5 separate regions of the Homo sapiens genome follow, and all the other regions are linked to region 4. Evidence: promoter capture Hi-C in 16 types of primary human blood cells and fetal thymus (Javierre and others, 2016). All regions are on one chromosome and are shown on one strand. The core of a region is centred on a gene start or on the middle of the fragment in contact, and the rest is flanking DNA. Distances in the headings are between cores, read along the strand shown.

Region 1 (2,700 bases), core at 148-2,647, 300 kb before region 4:
CCTTATTACTATGTTTGTTACATACGTGGCTATAGAGAAGTTTCTATGTTCCTATGAGTCTCAGTATGAAACAATCAGTAAAATGTTATCCTTTTTTAAAATGTGAAACATTCAGAAATATTTTATAATCCAGGAAAGCTTACAATTGACTTTTAAATCAGGAAAGTCACAGTATGTGCCTCAAAGGCTTGTTGTGAGGATTGAATGAGATTAGCCTGGTGCTGCACATGGTAAACTCTTGGAAAATTCTAGCTCTTATCATCCATAGTGGGTATTATTAATTTTCGTGTTTATGCCATTTTATTCAGCTTTTTTTCTGTCCACATGGCCGCTGTTCCTGGAAATCCATAATTAAGATCTTAGTTTGGCCTGCTTTGATGCTGCCTCTGTTGTTGGTGGGCCACTTGTAAATTCATATGCCCTTTGGATGAGACTTCAAAGAGACTGAAAGGTTATTTTGGACAGCACAGCCTCCACAGAGAAAGCTAATATATTCTTTCTCCACAAATGTCTCGTCCTACCCATCTCACATCAATAACAAATCACTTAAGATAGCTGATGACTACAGATTTATTAGATTATATGCAGTCATCTTCAAGGGCAACATAAAAGGTTTGGATGGAATCTAAAATAAGCCTTCTGACATGCAAAATGCTGATGTTATACTTTAATCATTGGGTTTTTATTTATTATCTGAAAATATTTTTATGAGTATGTCTTTTTCTTATTTACTATTTGGTTACTCAGTGATTACATGGAAAATGGAGGATAAATGCATGATTTCTTCCCTTTACCAGTTTTTAAGGTAATGAGTTGGTTTCCTGTCTTAAGATAAGTTAATTTTTTGCATCATTATAAATTCCTGATTTGATATAGAATTTTATGGACTTCAATTCATTGTATTTTTATTGATGCCCAAACTGAAAGATCATATCATGCATCTGAAAATATAGATCCAGAATGAATCTATATGACCCCCAAGGTATATTCTAGTAAAATTACTGGACTTTAAAGAGAAACAAAAATCATTTGGGCATATAAGCAAAAGAGAATGTGATATTTAAGGGGGAAGTTAGATTATCCTCAGACTTTTCAGCAGCAATCCTTTATGACAAAGGAAATGATGTGAATATATTTAAGATATTCAAGGAAAGAAAATGTGAGCTAAGAATGTATTAGAAACTGAATTTTGTTGATGAAGGACACAATCTGTAATTAAAATGCAAGAAATAAAGAGCTATTATTTCCATAAACTTTTCCTGAGGAATCTACTAAAGAACATTCCAGACAAAAATGAGAAGGAAGACCTCAGCATTAGGACTGATGATGAGGATAGAATATATAGTTATCTTTAGAAATCAGAGTAAATGGGGGTTACCTTTAGAAGTAAGGATAAATGAGGATTAAAAGAGAGAGTATGGTCTGCAATGACTACATGCTCTGACAATGTTGATAAAATACAATGTCTAAAAGGAGGGCAGATTGGGGAAAGCATATGTAAACATTTTTAATTGGTTTCAGTAATCAGAATTGGCTATGTTACTATCATCTTTCTGAAACTGTTTGTATAATGTGGGGCAGAGCATAGATAAATTATGAGGTATTCTAATTCTATATCATCTGTGCCTTGAGAACCAGAATTCTCACTGTGGAAGAAGGACAGTACAGAAGTAATATAGGACAAGGTAGGAAAATTCCCATTGCATTAATTTGAAAAGGAAATGTTTGTGTGAACTCATAGGACATCTTACCTTAAAAAAATCTTTCTCTTTTTCTTTCTCTTTCTTTTTCTTATTGTTTCTGTTTCTCTCTTTACCTATCACCTGTCTGTATCCTAGCTTTGTCCTCTGAAAAGGCCATAAAACAATGACCAGACCAGTCACAATGAATATTGGTAGCACTGAGATTCTTGCCTTTAAATATTGTTTCCCACTGAATTGTCTGTTTCTAGGTCAGGGTAGATGAGCTTGCAATAATCATGTCATTACAAGTAGCAGGCAAGCTGTCAAAGACTACTAGATTCATGTCCAAAGGACTCAGGAGCAAAACTGAGGAGGTGTCCACTGGCCAAATTTGGGCCAATATGCCCACAGTTTGTTCACCATTTTATTAGGAATGGTTTCACAAGTAGAGCAAAATATCCCCACTTTTCCTGCATCTCTGGATTGTACCATTAACATTTTACTACACTGGCTTCATCACACATCTATCCAGCTATCCACCCACTAACCTATCTTATTTTTGGATGCATTTTAAAGTAAATTGCAGCCATCTTAACTCTTCTTCCTAAAAACTTCAGCATGAAAATGTCCACTTCTAACTCACAACACTAGAAATGAAACACAAAAATGACCCTGATGACAGGCTGAGAGCACTGAGGAGCAGGGGAAGGACAGAAACAGGAAATCTAACAAAGGCAGAGATTCAGGGTGGCTGGAAACAAGTTCCTAGCCTTGACAGTTTTGCCTGAGGCCATTCACAGGGGCATGGTTCCCCCTCTACCTGAGCTTTAGCCATTTATCTTCATATACATATTTTCCCCCGTCATCTCTGACTTTATTCTTATTGGATCCTTTATATAATAGAGCAGAGCATTCTTGATATTGCATTTTTAAACCTAGGATAAAGCAGCTTCTTTTATATATATCAAGCTTCGAGCTTGTAATAGTGGAAGGAAAAATAACGAGTAAGTTATTCTCT
Region 2 (2,700 bases), core at 192-2,691, 330 kb before region 4:
TCTTTCTTTTTTCATCCCTTAACATGATATTGTGACTAAGAGTGCTTGTTGGATAAAGCTTTGATGTATGAGTCTAAAGGGGCTTGGAGTAGCCTCTCACCAATTAAATTTCCTCTAGACAAACCCCGCATAACTTTAAAATGAGCTAATGATAATAATACGAGGTACGATTTTCTGGAAAGTGAATCTTTTGTCAGAAAGAAGATTGGGCAGTAAATATGTCTCAGGAGGGAGCTGAGGTCTCTACACAGTTCAAACTAAATGCACAACAGTATTTCAGATGTCACAAGGTGACTGCATCTCCTAGAATATCATTAATCAATGTTCTAGGGTTTTGATAGAGAAAGCATCCTTTGCTCTCCTGGGGCTCTTGTGCTTTTTCCACTGAGTATTTCCTTTGGAAAAGTTGTCATCCTTCTTTCTGCATTTTATGAGAAGCTGCCTCTCTGCCTGAGCTGTTGGTTTGTAGGTCAGAGTTGAGTGGTCACATGGGAAGAGCTAGGAAGAAAAAGGTTTGGAGTAAGACTGCTAAGTCTACCGACCTCAACCAGACTGGGTGTGGGTTTGGGGTGGGTGGGGGAAAAGAGAAACCAATGTTCCCGGTTCTGGGTGCTTGAGGGTCTCCTCTATGGGGACAGCCAGGGCTGAGTTGCTCAGTGATCAGGTGACAGGTCAGGAGGGAGAACAGGGATGACAGTGTTGGGTCATATAACATGCAATGGAAGGACTATCTAATACAAAACAAAAAAAAAAGCAGCTCATGCAAAATAGTTATCTTACATTCACTTAAATTTTGTTTATTCACACCCACCCTTGAGGCTGCTGGTTGTCTTTCTGTGAAACTGCCCAGGATGGCTGGTTTTTTGTCTTGATATAGTGGAAATCACATGAATTTGGAGTCAGATAAATTTGGGTCCAAATCCCAGCTCTGCCTTCTCACAGCTGTATGACCTTGGACACACTATCTAACCCCAGTGTGCAATATGGGAAATGGGCTCCTCCTCAAGGATTTGGTGGAAGGATTAAAATGATATATTAAGTTGGTACAAAAATAATTTCGGCTTTTGCCATTACTTTTGCACCAACCGAATAGCTTGCAGCTCATGCCTTGTATTCAATATATTCAGTGTCACTATCACTATTCTCTCCATCTCCCCTACTCCTGTTGCTTCTATGATCAGTTAGTCTATTACATTTATCATATCAGTATTTTATGCTTTTGTTGTGTCTCAACTATAGGAAGTATTAAAAGGGAAGAAAGAAGTTGAAGAACTACATAGTAGGAAATATCCCAAATCCACCATCTCTTCTCTCTGGGAGGTGGTCTTAGTTTCTGGAAACGTTAATACTAAGTCATCAGCAACCCTTATGCATAATAGTAAATGAGACAGTCACTATTCTTATTAGGATGCTATCTTAGTTGGATTGGGCTGCTATGACAAATGACCTTAAACTGGGTGGCTTATAAACAACAGGTATTTCCCACAGTTCTAGAGGCTGGGAAGTCCAAGATGAAGACACTGACAGATTCATTGTCTGCTGGGGGGCCCATTTCCTGCTTCATAGATGATATCTTCTTCTTGTGTTCTCACATGGTGGAAAGGGATAGTTGTCTCTCGGGTCTCTCTTATAAGGGCACTAATTTTATTCATGAATGCTCCACCATTGTGACCTAATCACCTTCCAAAAGGCCCCACCTCTTAATAGCGTGGGAGTTAGAAATTCAGTATATGAATTTTGGGGAAACATAAATGTTCAAACCATAGAAAGTATGGGTTTTTCCAACCAAGAGAACTTTTGGTAGGGGGCTTTTCTGTGATTTACTTTAGCCTACTAGCTGTTGAAAAAATTCTCCATTGCATAATATTCTAGCTGAATTATTTATATTGCCTACAACTTGATAGCACATTTTTACTCTAGAGAAGACATTACAAAATAGTAACTGGCCATCACAGAGTATTTACATTTTATGACAGGTTATTTACAAACTAGCTTATTTCTTACAACCAATGCATAAAGTAGATTATTTTCTTTGTAAGTGAGGAAATAGAGGTTTAGAGAAATTGAGTGTTGATGGACACATAAAGAAGAGATAGCATTCATGTTTACATCAAATGACTCCAAAACCCATGCTCTGTTAAATAAGACAGTCAAGTAAGTCTAACCTAAATAGAGCTGCTTTCTTTGAGACTTCTGGTTGTGTAGTTCAATTAGAGCTGGAACGATCACTTACACAAAATCATTTATATTTTAGTGCTACTGGAAAAATTGAGCCTCTGCAGTGTTCTGCTTTTATCTTGCTTTACTTTCATTAGGCTGGACTTACCTTTACTGTTTTACTTTTGATGCCATTGACCTGGCACACAAACCTAGGGCATGATGTCCCAGTTTCAGAGGCAAGAAGAAAAGAATCTGCTTTATTTAAAAACTATATGCTATATCTGGAGTTTTTCTAGTGAGCTTTTAGTGCTCATGAAAGGCAGCTACATGGAATTTCAAATGACAACTTAGACAAAGATATTTACCAAATAAACACATAAAGATTCCATAGGTTTGCAAACCATCTTCTTTCCGGGAAGACGTAGAAAAGACTTTCAAAAGGCATGGATGACTCAGTCAATATAAAAGCCTTAGACCTCTCTTTCTCAGTTCCACCAAGTCCTAACCTGAACTCAATTAGTTAACACAGTCTCTGTTGCT
Region 3 (2,718 bases), core at 161-2,660, 350 kb before region 4:
GAGTTTACATTTTGTCGGGGGAGAGATAATAAAAAAACTAATTGCAGGGGCTTTCATTTTTTTTAGGTAGGAAAGTTCTATAAAGTCACCTGGAACACTAAATTAGCAAACACGGCGCCATTGCTCTTAGGGGGAAACACAGAGTTAGGTTCCTGTGAGCCTCTGGTCACGACATTTTTGTCAGCTAATCAATATATAACCTTGTTTTATGTGTGTTTCTGTTTAAAGACGTCTTATTTAATATAGTTGATTCATTAACATGAACTCAGGGCTAACAGCATATCACTCATGCCTGAATGAAATTTACCTATTTTCTCTGTAAGGCACATCCCAGCCTTTTTGCACTTAGAAACACTAGACAGCACTTTAATGCTTGGGGACCATTTTTAAACAATGAAATCGTCAAAAAAGACACAAAAATGTGAAAAATGTGGCAGTAACTAGATCACAAAAAGAATATTTACAGTATGAGAGTAGAAACAAGAAGGCAGAATGCCACCATGTTGGACCTCAGCTGGTCCGACATGTGCATCAGACAACTCAAAATTTCTTCTACTTTGTGCGTGTCAATGAATGACCATGAAAGCATCATAAGTATTGATTTGGAGGTTACTAAACTAAATTTTAGTGAGTGGGCAAATTTGCAGACATGAAATCCTTGAATTAAGGCACTAACCTGCATCAGACATTGACTGTATGTTATTAACTGTTTCTATACCATTGCAATTGTGCTGATAATTACGGTGATGCAATATCCTTTCACAGGGAGTCTGGAGGTCAGAGAAGATTTTCTGAGAAACAGACACTAAAGCTGAAATCTTAAGGGCAAATTGGTGTCAGTTGGGTTGAGTGGGGAATGATGACAGTCTATTTCAGGCAGAGCAAACAGCATATGCAAAGGTCTGAGATGGGAATGAGCATTGCATATTTCTAGGGCCTGAATGAAGTCCCTTATAGCTGAACTACCCAGACCCATGGGGAGGGAGGAGCCAGATTATGCAGGAACTTGTGACTCCAGTAAAGGATTAAAGAAATTGAGACAGGGTTTTACTCCATCACCCAGGCTAGAGTGTAGTGGCCCAATCATGTCTCACTGCAGCTTCCACCTCCCCAGCTCAGTTGATCCTCACATTTTGGCCTCCCAAGTAGCTGGGACTGCAGGCATGTGTCACCATGCCTACCTAATTTTTGTATTTTTTGTAGAGATGGGTTTTTGTAATGTTGCCCAGGCTGGTCTTGAATTCCTAGGCTCAAGTGACACACCTGCCTTGTCCTCCTATAGGCTGGGACAGTAAAAGATTTTGATCTTTATTCTAAGAGTAATGGGAAGCCAGGCTAAGAGATAGTATATATTTGTGTTTTAAAAGGGTCATTCCCTCTGTTTGAGTGTAAAGAAAGGTCTAGATGGGGCTGAGAGGATGTGGGGAGGGCAGTTGGAAGATTATTTCAATCACTGAGCAGAGACAGTACTAAGGTTAGGCTAAGGGCAGGGTGCGAGGGAAAAGCGGCATTAGGATCAGAGTTGGGTTTCTGGTGTGTGCAACTGCATAGATGAGGGTGCTATTTCCAGAGGTCAGGAACAGTTGGAAGAAAGTGAGTTTTGAGGGAATTAGCTCAATTTTGTTTTGTAGTTAAAGTGCCTATGAGATATTGTGGTAGGTGAAGAAATGTGCCACCGAGTTCCCCCTTCAGGGAAGGACTTGCTATCCAGCCCAGCGGAAGGCAGGCTGCAGATAGCCATCAGCAGTCAGCAACTTCAGGGTCTGCCGGAGGGGCAGAGCTGCCTCCCTAGAGGGCGTGCCCCTCTTGGAGCAGCTCACGTCTGGTGAATGAGTAAGGCGGGACACTCGGTGGGCAATATTGGCTCCAGAGCTCCTTGCTTAGGGTCCAAGGGGAAACTGTAGGACGTTCAACTTCTTCCTTGGACAGGTTCATATAGGAAACACCTTATTACTCACATTTCAGGTCAGTGTGTGCTCTGCAGGCTCTGGCCTGCATCAGATAGCCAAGTGGAGACCAAATCGGACACATGGATGTGATCTAAAGATGCATGTTCACAAATGGTCAATATGCAGGTGGCGAATGAAGATATGAGAGTGGCTGATTTTGTGTAGAAGAAAGAATGAAAAGGAGAAGTAGCCTAGGAATCAATCTTGGGAAACTCCAACCTTTGAATGTGAAACAGGGAAGGATAAACTAAAAGACTGTTCAGAAAGGTGGGAGGATACCCAGGAGGAGACCATGAAAGACAAAAAAGAAAATAGTTAACTCCACAGAGTGCTGCTGAGAGGCTACGGAGGCCCAGGTCAAAAGTATACCTTGCAGAAGTCATTGGCAACTTAGCTCAGTGGTTGGGTGGGCTGTTGAGGGGAGATGCAAGGTTTCAGTGGGTTGTGGAATGAGTGAGAAATTAAGAAATAGAGACAGTGAGTGTAGACAACTCCTTTTAGAAATGCGACTGAGAAAAGGACAGAAGACATAGGGCTGTAATTGAAAGAAAAAATAAGGCTTGAGATATTAAAAAAATTACACTTTTTTTAATTTAAATTTAAGTTTTTTTATTTTTAATTATTGCGGGTACATAGTAGGTGTATAGCTTTATGGGGTACATGCGATGTTTTGATACAGGCATGTAGTGTGTAATCACATCATGTAGAATGGGGTATCCCTTCCCTGAAGCATTTATCCCTTGTGTTACAAACAATCCAATTATACTCT
Region 4 (2,700 bases), core at 128-2,627:
CAAAAAAGAACTTCTTATAGCCCTCCTTTAATCTATGTTTCTACTACTCCAGTCTCTCTGAGGTTTCATATCTTCTAACTTGGACAGTACAGTAGCCTTCTTTTATCCAACCTTCAAAATCATGCAGTTCTCCCCCCTAAAACACAAATTTTACCTTGTTACTTTCATTTAAGTTATTTTACCAAGTCATTTGCCTTTAAGATATCCACACCATGCCAGGCACAGTGGCTCATGCCTGTAATCCCAGCACTTTGGGAGGCTGAGGCAGGCAGATTACTTGAGGCCAGGAGTTTGAGACTAGCCTGGCCAACATTGTGAAACTCTGTCTCTACAAAAAATTAAAAAATTACCTGGGCATGGTGGCACACGTCTGTAGTCCCAGCTACTCAGGAGGCTGAGGCAAGAGAATTACTTGAACCCAGGAGGCAGATGTTGCAGTGAGCCGAGATCATGCCCCTGCTCTTCAGCCTGGGCCATGTAGCAAGACCTTGTCTCAAACAACAACAGATAACCACAGCATAGAATATCCAATGCAGCCTGTCTTTAATGTCCTCTCATACCATGCTTTCCTATATACCTCATGATATAACTACACTAACCTACTTTCTGTGATCAGACCTACCAAACTCAGGTATGCTTAGACTCGCTGCTTCTCCCTGGAATGTTAATTCTCTGCTTGGCAAACCCTTGTACCTTTGTTAAGACCTTGATTAAAAGTTACCTCTCTGACGCCTTCTCCATTCCAACAAGCATTAGAAGCCTCCTCTTCATTCCCCTGGGCAATTTCACCTACTGCCTTCCTCTTTGGTGCCATGTATCACATTAATTTATTTTTCTAATTTTTTTCCAGAATTTCATTTTTCATGTATATGTGGCAATGTATTTTATTTTTAAACTTTTAATTTTTAATTGTTGTGGGTACAGAGTAGGTATATATATTCAGAGGATACATGAGATGTTTTGATACAGACATCACATAATTTATGACCATCCATTTAGAAGCCTGTTTTGCTTGCTCACAAAGCTTGGTTTTCTCAGGGCAGGGCTGTGTACACCTACATATCTACATGTCCCTAGAATAATACCTCTAACACAGCCAGTATGCGATGAGTACATGTTGAACAAAGACGTTAATGGATAAGTAAATAGAACCTACATGGCATCAGTCCACATTCGTTTTTTACTTTTCTAAGTTTTTTCCCCTCTGAAATCTGTAAGTGTGCTTAATCTCTGCCTCTGCTTTTTTGTTATTGTTTCTGTTTAGAGGAGTCACAGAGGGATCCTAGTGAAGAGGATTATAACTTTGCCTGTTTTGTGATGCGGAGGTGATGTCATGTTGTTCTACCATTTTATCATTGTTCCTTCTGAGCCTGAGTGTTCTTTCTCTTGAAGATTCAAGTGAACCAGGGAAGGAGAATGACATCAGACTGGGCTTGTGCCTGATAATTCATTTCTGAAGGTGCAATATTAAGTGTCACAGTGTCCAGCTGGTGATATTTTCAGCATAGAAACCTGTTAGACACGGCAGCATTAAGGAGATGGAATGAATTGATTTATTTCTCTTCTGAATTGCTTGGCAGTGCTTCAAGATTGACGCATCAGATTTGCACAATGTGCCACTTTAGGAGATTATTTCTTCCTTCCTTCAGCCAGACAGAAGACTGCAGTAGGTAATGATAGCTTAAACTTGGGAAATGTCCTTCTTCAGAGACAGCGTCACGGACATTTTGGAGAGGATCAGATTACTCTACAGCTGCTTTCCCTGGTGGACCTGAGGAGGCACACCCCTGAGCCAGGACTTTAAGGGAGAGGGTAGAACAACCTAGAAGCTCAGAAGGTCACTCCAACTATTATCTTCCCTTCTGTGACTTATTGACATACACTTTGATATCAAGGCACTGATGCTGATAACGTGAGAGAAAGGAATAGATTAATTATGGGATGAGGAGTATTTTAAATGCTAAAGGCTTTGTCTAAAATAATTCACATTTTTCCATCCAGTGGTTCCTCTCTTTGAATCCTGTTAGAATGACAGTAGATCTTTTAATTCTTTCCCCACTTTAGGCATGACTTTGAAGAACCTGAAGATGTGAAAATGAAATGGATACTGTGCTCCTTTTGGCTAGGATTGGGGAGGGCCCACTAACTGATCTCTACTACCCAGCCCCTTTCAACATCAAAGCTACTTTTTTTTTTTTTTTGAGACAAAGTCTGGCCCTGTCGCCAGGCTGGAGTGCAGTGGTGCAGTCTCAGCTCACTGCAACCTCTGCCTCCTGGATTCAAGGGATTCCCCTGCCTCAGCCTCCCGAGCAGCTGGGACTACAGGTGCATGCCACCATGCCTGGCTAATTTTTTGTATTTTAGTAGAGACGGGATTTCACTTTGTTGGCCAGGATGGTCTCAATCCAAAGCTACTTTTAGCAGGATTGAACTCTGAGGTCATCCAGTGGCCAGTTGTGATGCTGTCACTTTTAAAACTGGAATGAGTTACTGTTCGGATGGTGGCTTTGGTCTGAGGCCTGTGATTCCTGTTTTGCCATTTCTTGGCTGTGTGTTTGAGGACCTCTTAATCCCTAGCCTCCTCATTTGTAAAATAATCCTTCCCATGGACCTTGTGCATTTCATGGAAATGCAGTAGTATGGGGTCTGGAAGATTCTTTGTAGGCATTCTACCTTTCCCTATGTGTTCCAAGTGACCCT
Region 5 (2,755 bases), core at 5-2,504, 420 kb before region 4:
GCAGGTATAAACAGACTGTAGACCTTTAGGCCTGTGAACACTGAATATCTGAAACAGGTCTCGGTTAATTTAGAAAGTTCATTTTGCCAAGGTTGAGGATGCATACCTGTGACACAGCCTCAAGAGGTCCTGACAACATGTTCCTAAGGTGGTCAGAGCACAGGTTGGTTTTATACAGTTTAGGGAGACATCAGACATCAATCAACATATGTAAGAGGAACACTGGTTTGGTCTGGAAAGGCAGAACAACTCAAAGCAGGGAGGGGGCTTACAGGTCACAGGTAGAAAAGAGACAAATGGTTGCATTCTTTTGAGTTTCTTTTTCTTCTTCTTCTTTTTTTTTTCTTTGAGATGGAGTCTCACTCTGTTGCCCAGACTGGAGTGCAGTGGTGTGATCTTGCCTCACTGCAACCTCTGCCTCCCAGGTTCAAGTGATTCTCATGCCTCAGCCTCCCAAGTAGTTGGGATTACAGGCACGTGCCACCACATCTGGCTAATTTTGGTATTTTTAGTAGAGATGGGGTTTCACCACACTGGCCAGGCTTGTCTCAGACTCCTGACCTCAAGTGATCCACCAGCCTCGGCCTCCCAAAGTGCTGGGATTACAGATGTGAGCCACCATGCCCAGCCTCTTTTGAGTTTCTGATTAGCCTCTCCAAAGGAGGCAATCAAATATGCTTTTATCTCAGTGAGCAGAATAGAATGGGAGGCAGATTTGCCCTAAGCAGTCCCCAGCTTGCCTTTTCCCTTTAGCTTAGTGATTTTTGGGGCTCCAAGATTTATTTTCTTGTCACAGGCCAAACTTAAAATATTCCAAGAGGCAGCTTTAGGCTAAACTTGATTTAACAGTGATCAAATTATCTTTTATTGGCCCCATGTTTCAGATGAGAAAAGGGATGTGAAGAAAAGTAGGATGAGTCGCCTAAAGTCACATGGTGAGTGTGCCAGTCATCTTTCAATGCTTGTTCTCAGCTCAATTTCTCACACTGACCCTGCTCTACTCTTTATCACAGGAGTTGCATAGTTCAGGCTCCCTTCTTGATTAGATTGCATATGCTACTGGGTCATGGGAGGAACCAGAGAAAGGGTAGAAAAGGGAGGAGGGACAAATCAGAGAATACCTGCCACCATCACCTCCCCACCTTTCTTTCAGGCCCCACGTCCAGCAGAGGTAGTGTCTCCTTTTCCTGCTTGAGTTCTTGAGTATGACTTCCCTTGGACACCTCTCCCCTCCATGGTCTCAGTTCTCACCAGGCTGCCCCTGCTGCCATAATTCTAGCTCCCTCTGGATGATCCTGGGTTCTGGTCTCTGGTAGCAACATCTACTTCTTGTGTGCTGCAACCCCAGAGGTGATAATGGCTTTTTTCCATTGCTAATTTCTGAGTTGCCCCATTATCCCCTGTGATGAACTGAACTGTTCCCTCTCCCCCACCCCAAATTCATATGTTGAAGCCCTAAGCTCCCAATGTTACTGTATTTCGATATAGGGCCTTTAAGGAAGTAAATAAGGCTAAATGAGCTTTAAGGGTAGGACCCTGATCTGATTGGATTAGTGTCTTTATAAAAAGAGACACTGGAGAGCTCACTCTTGCTCTGTCATGTGAGGACATGATGAGAAGGTGGCCCTCTGCAAGCCAGGGAGAGAGCCCTCACCAGAAACTGACTGTGCTATCACCCAGAGCTTTCTGTCATTTAAGTCACCAAGTCTATATTTTGTTATGGCAGCCCACACTGACTAGAGTTGAATTTGCTTCTTACCTTTCCCTTAACTTGTGGTATATTTCCTTGTATTACATTCCATTCTCTCTGGAGCTCTTAGAATGTTCTTTCACCTCCTCCTCCTCCTCCTCTTTGTCCTCCTCCTCTTCCTCCTCCTCCTCCTCTTCCTCCTTCTCCTCCCCTTGACTGGCCCCTAACATGCTAAGTCCACTAGGAAGTTTAAAACTGGAAGTTGAACCAAGATCTAATTGGACATCAAAATCTGTGTTCTTAAAAGCTACACTGTACTTTCTAGATTGTTTTGGTTGTCTGAAGAGATTTGAGGAACAGCCAAGTAAATAATATGAAAGAGGCTCTGTTTGATTAATGACACTAAGAGGGATGGAAATGGAAAAAAGTTTCAAGTTTTCAGTGGTTCTAAATGTGACATTTTAGACCCATCCTTTGTAATGACAGGCTGGAGGTTGGGGGTCTCTGTGGAGAGACAGCATTCCAGTTAGTGGCCCTGCTGTCATGGACAGCAAGAGGGGTAGGGATATTGTACTGATGGAATGTGGACATTGGTGTTCCTTGACAGTATCTTGAATGGTATCATGATATGGCATGCCAAGCCCTGAAATATATATTAGCTTGGCAGTGAATATTTATGTTTTTCTTTTCTGATAACACATGGAGTTATAGGCTGTTAATGTGGGCAAGGTACATGTCTTTAATGTTGTTAACTATTCTCATTCTTTGACAAATCTTTCATTTCTCCCAAGCAATATCTTGTTCACATCTGTTGCCAGAAAAAGGGATTCCAATCCAGACCCCAAGAGAGAGTTCTTGGCTCTCATGCAGAAAGGAATTAAGGGCAAGTCCTTGAGTACAGTGAGAAGACAGAGTTTATTGAAGCTGCTCAGTAACAGAGTAGGCCATCCTCAGAAAGCAAGAGGAGGAATATGCCATCTTTGTTTTAAACTCTCCTTATGTAGGGGTCTTATCTATGTAAAAGTAAGCTATGTCTATGTTTAGGTGGACTGAGAGCATGACAAC

Evidence for each region. The method cuts DNA at HindIII sites, captures the fragments that hold promoters and counts their contacts. A CHiCAGO score of 5 or more calls a contact.
Region 1: a contact is called between a fragment that was not itself captured here and the fragment with the promoter of ADAM7-AS2 in region 4, in 1 of 17 cell types (megakaryocytes). The highest score is 5.1, in megakaryocytes.
Region 2: a fragment that was not itself captured here is called in contact with the fragment with the promoter of ADAM7-AS2 in region 4 in 1 of 17 cell types (endothelial precursors); the score reaches 5.8 in endothelial precursors.
Region 3: a contact is called between a fragment that was not itself captured here and the fragment with the promoter of ADAM7-AS2 in region 4, in 2 of 17 cell types (endothelial precursors and megakaryocytes). The highest score is 8.4, in endothelial precursors.
Region 5: a fragment that was not itself captured here is called in contact with the fragment with the promoter of ADAM7-AS2 in region 4 in 1 of 17 cell types (megakaryocytes); the score reaches 5.5 in megakaryocytes.

The regions. Positions count from the first base shown.
Region 1 is chr8:24,818,474-24,821,173 of GRCh38, reverse strand. No RefSeq gene overlaps it. Among named protein-coding and RNA genes, the nearest start is that of NEFM, 94 kb to the left of the region's middle. The HindIII fragment of the contact is 2,513 bases long and covers 141-2,653 here.
Region 2 is chr8:24,846,205-24,848,904 of GRCh38, reverse strand. No RefSeq gene overlaps it. Among named protein-coding and RNA genes, the nearest start is that of NEFM, 66 kb to the left of the region's middle. The HindIII fragment of the contact is 2,761 bases long and covers 61-2,700 here.
Region 3 is chr8:24,864,494-24,867,211 of GRCh38, reverse strand. No RefSeq gene overlaps it. Among named protein-coding and RNA genes, the nearest start is that of NEFM, 48 kb to the left of the region's middle. The HindIII fragment of the contact is 6,520 bases long and covers 1-2,718 here.
Region 4 is chr8:24,513,545-24,516,244 of GRCh38, reverse strand. It overlaps ADAM7-AS2 (ADAM7 antisense RNA 2), which reads left to right and starts at 1,377. Exons shown (of 5, transcript NR_125809.1): 1 at 1,377-1,459; 2 at 1,581-1,670. The region is part of intron 1 of ADAM7-AS1 (ADAM7, ADAMDEC1 and ADAM28 antisense RNA 1); the gene reads left to right. The HindIII fragment of the contact is 1,717 bases long and covers 1,027-2,700 here.
Region 5 is chr8:24,928,885-24,931,639 of GRCh38, reverse strand. No RefSeq gene overlaps it. Among named protein-coding and RNA genes, the nearest start is that of NEFM, 17 kb to the right of the region's middle. The HindIII fragment of the contact is 3,543 bases long and covers 1-2,755 here.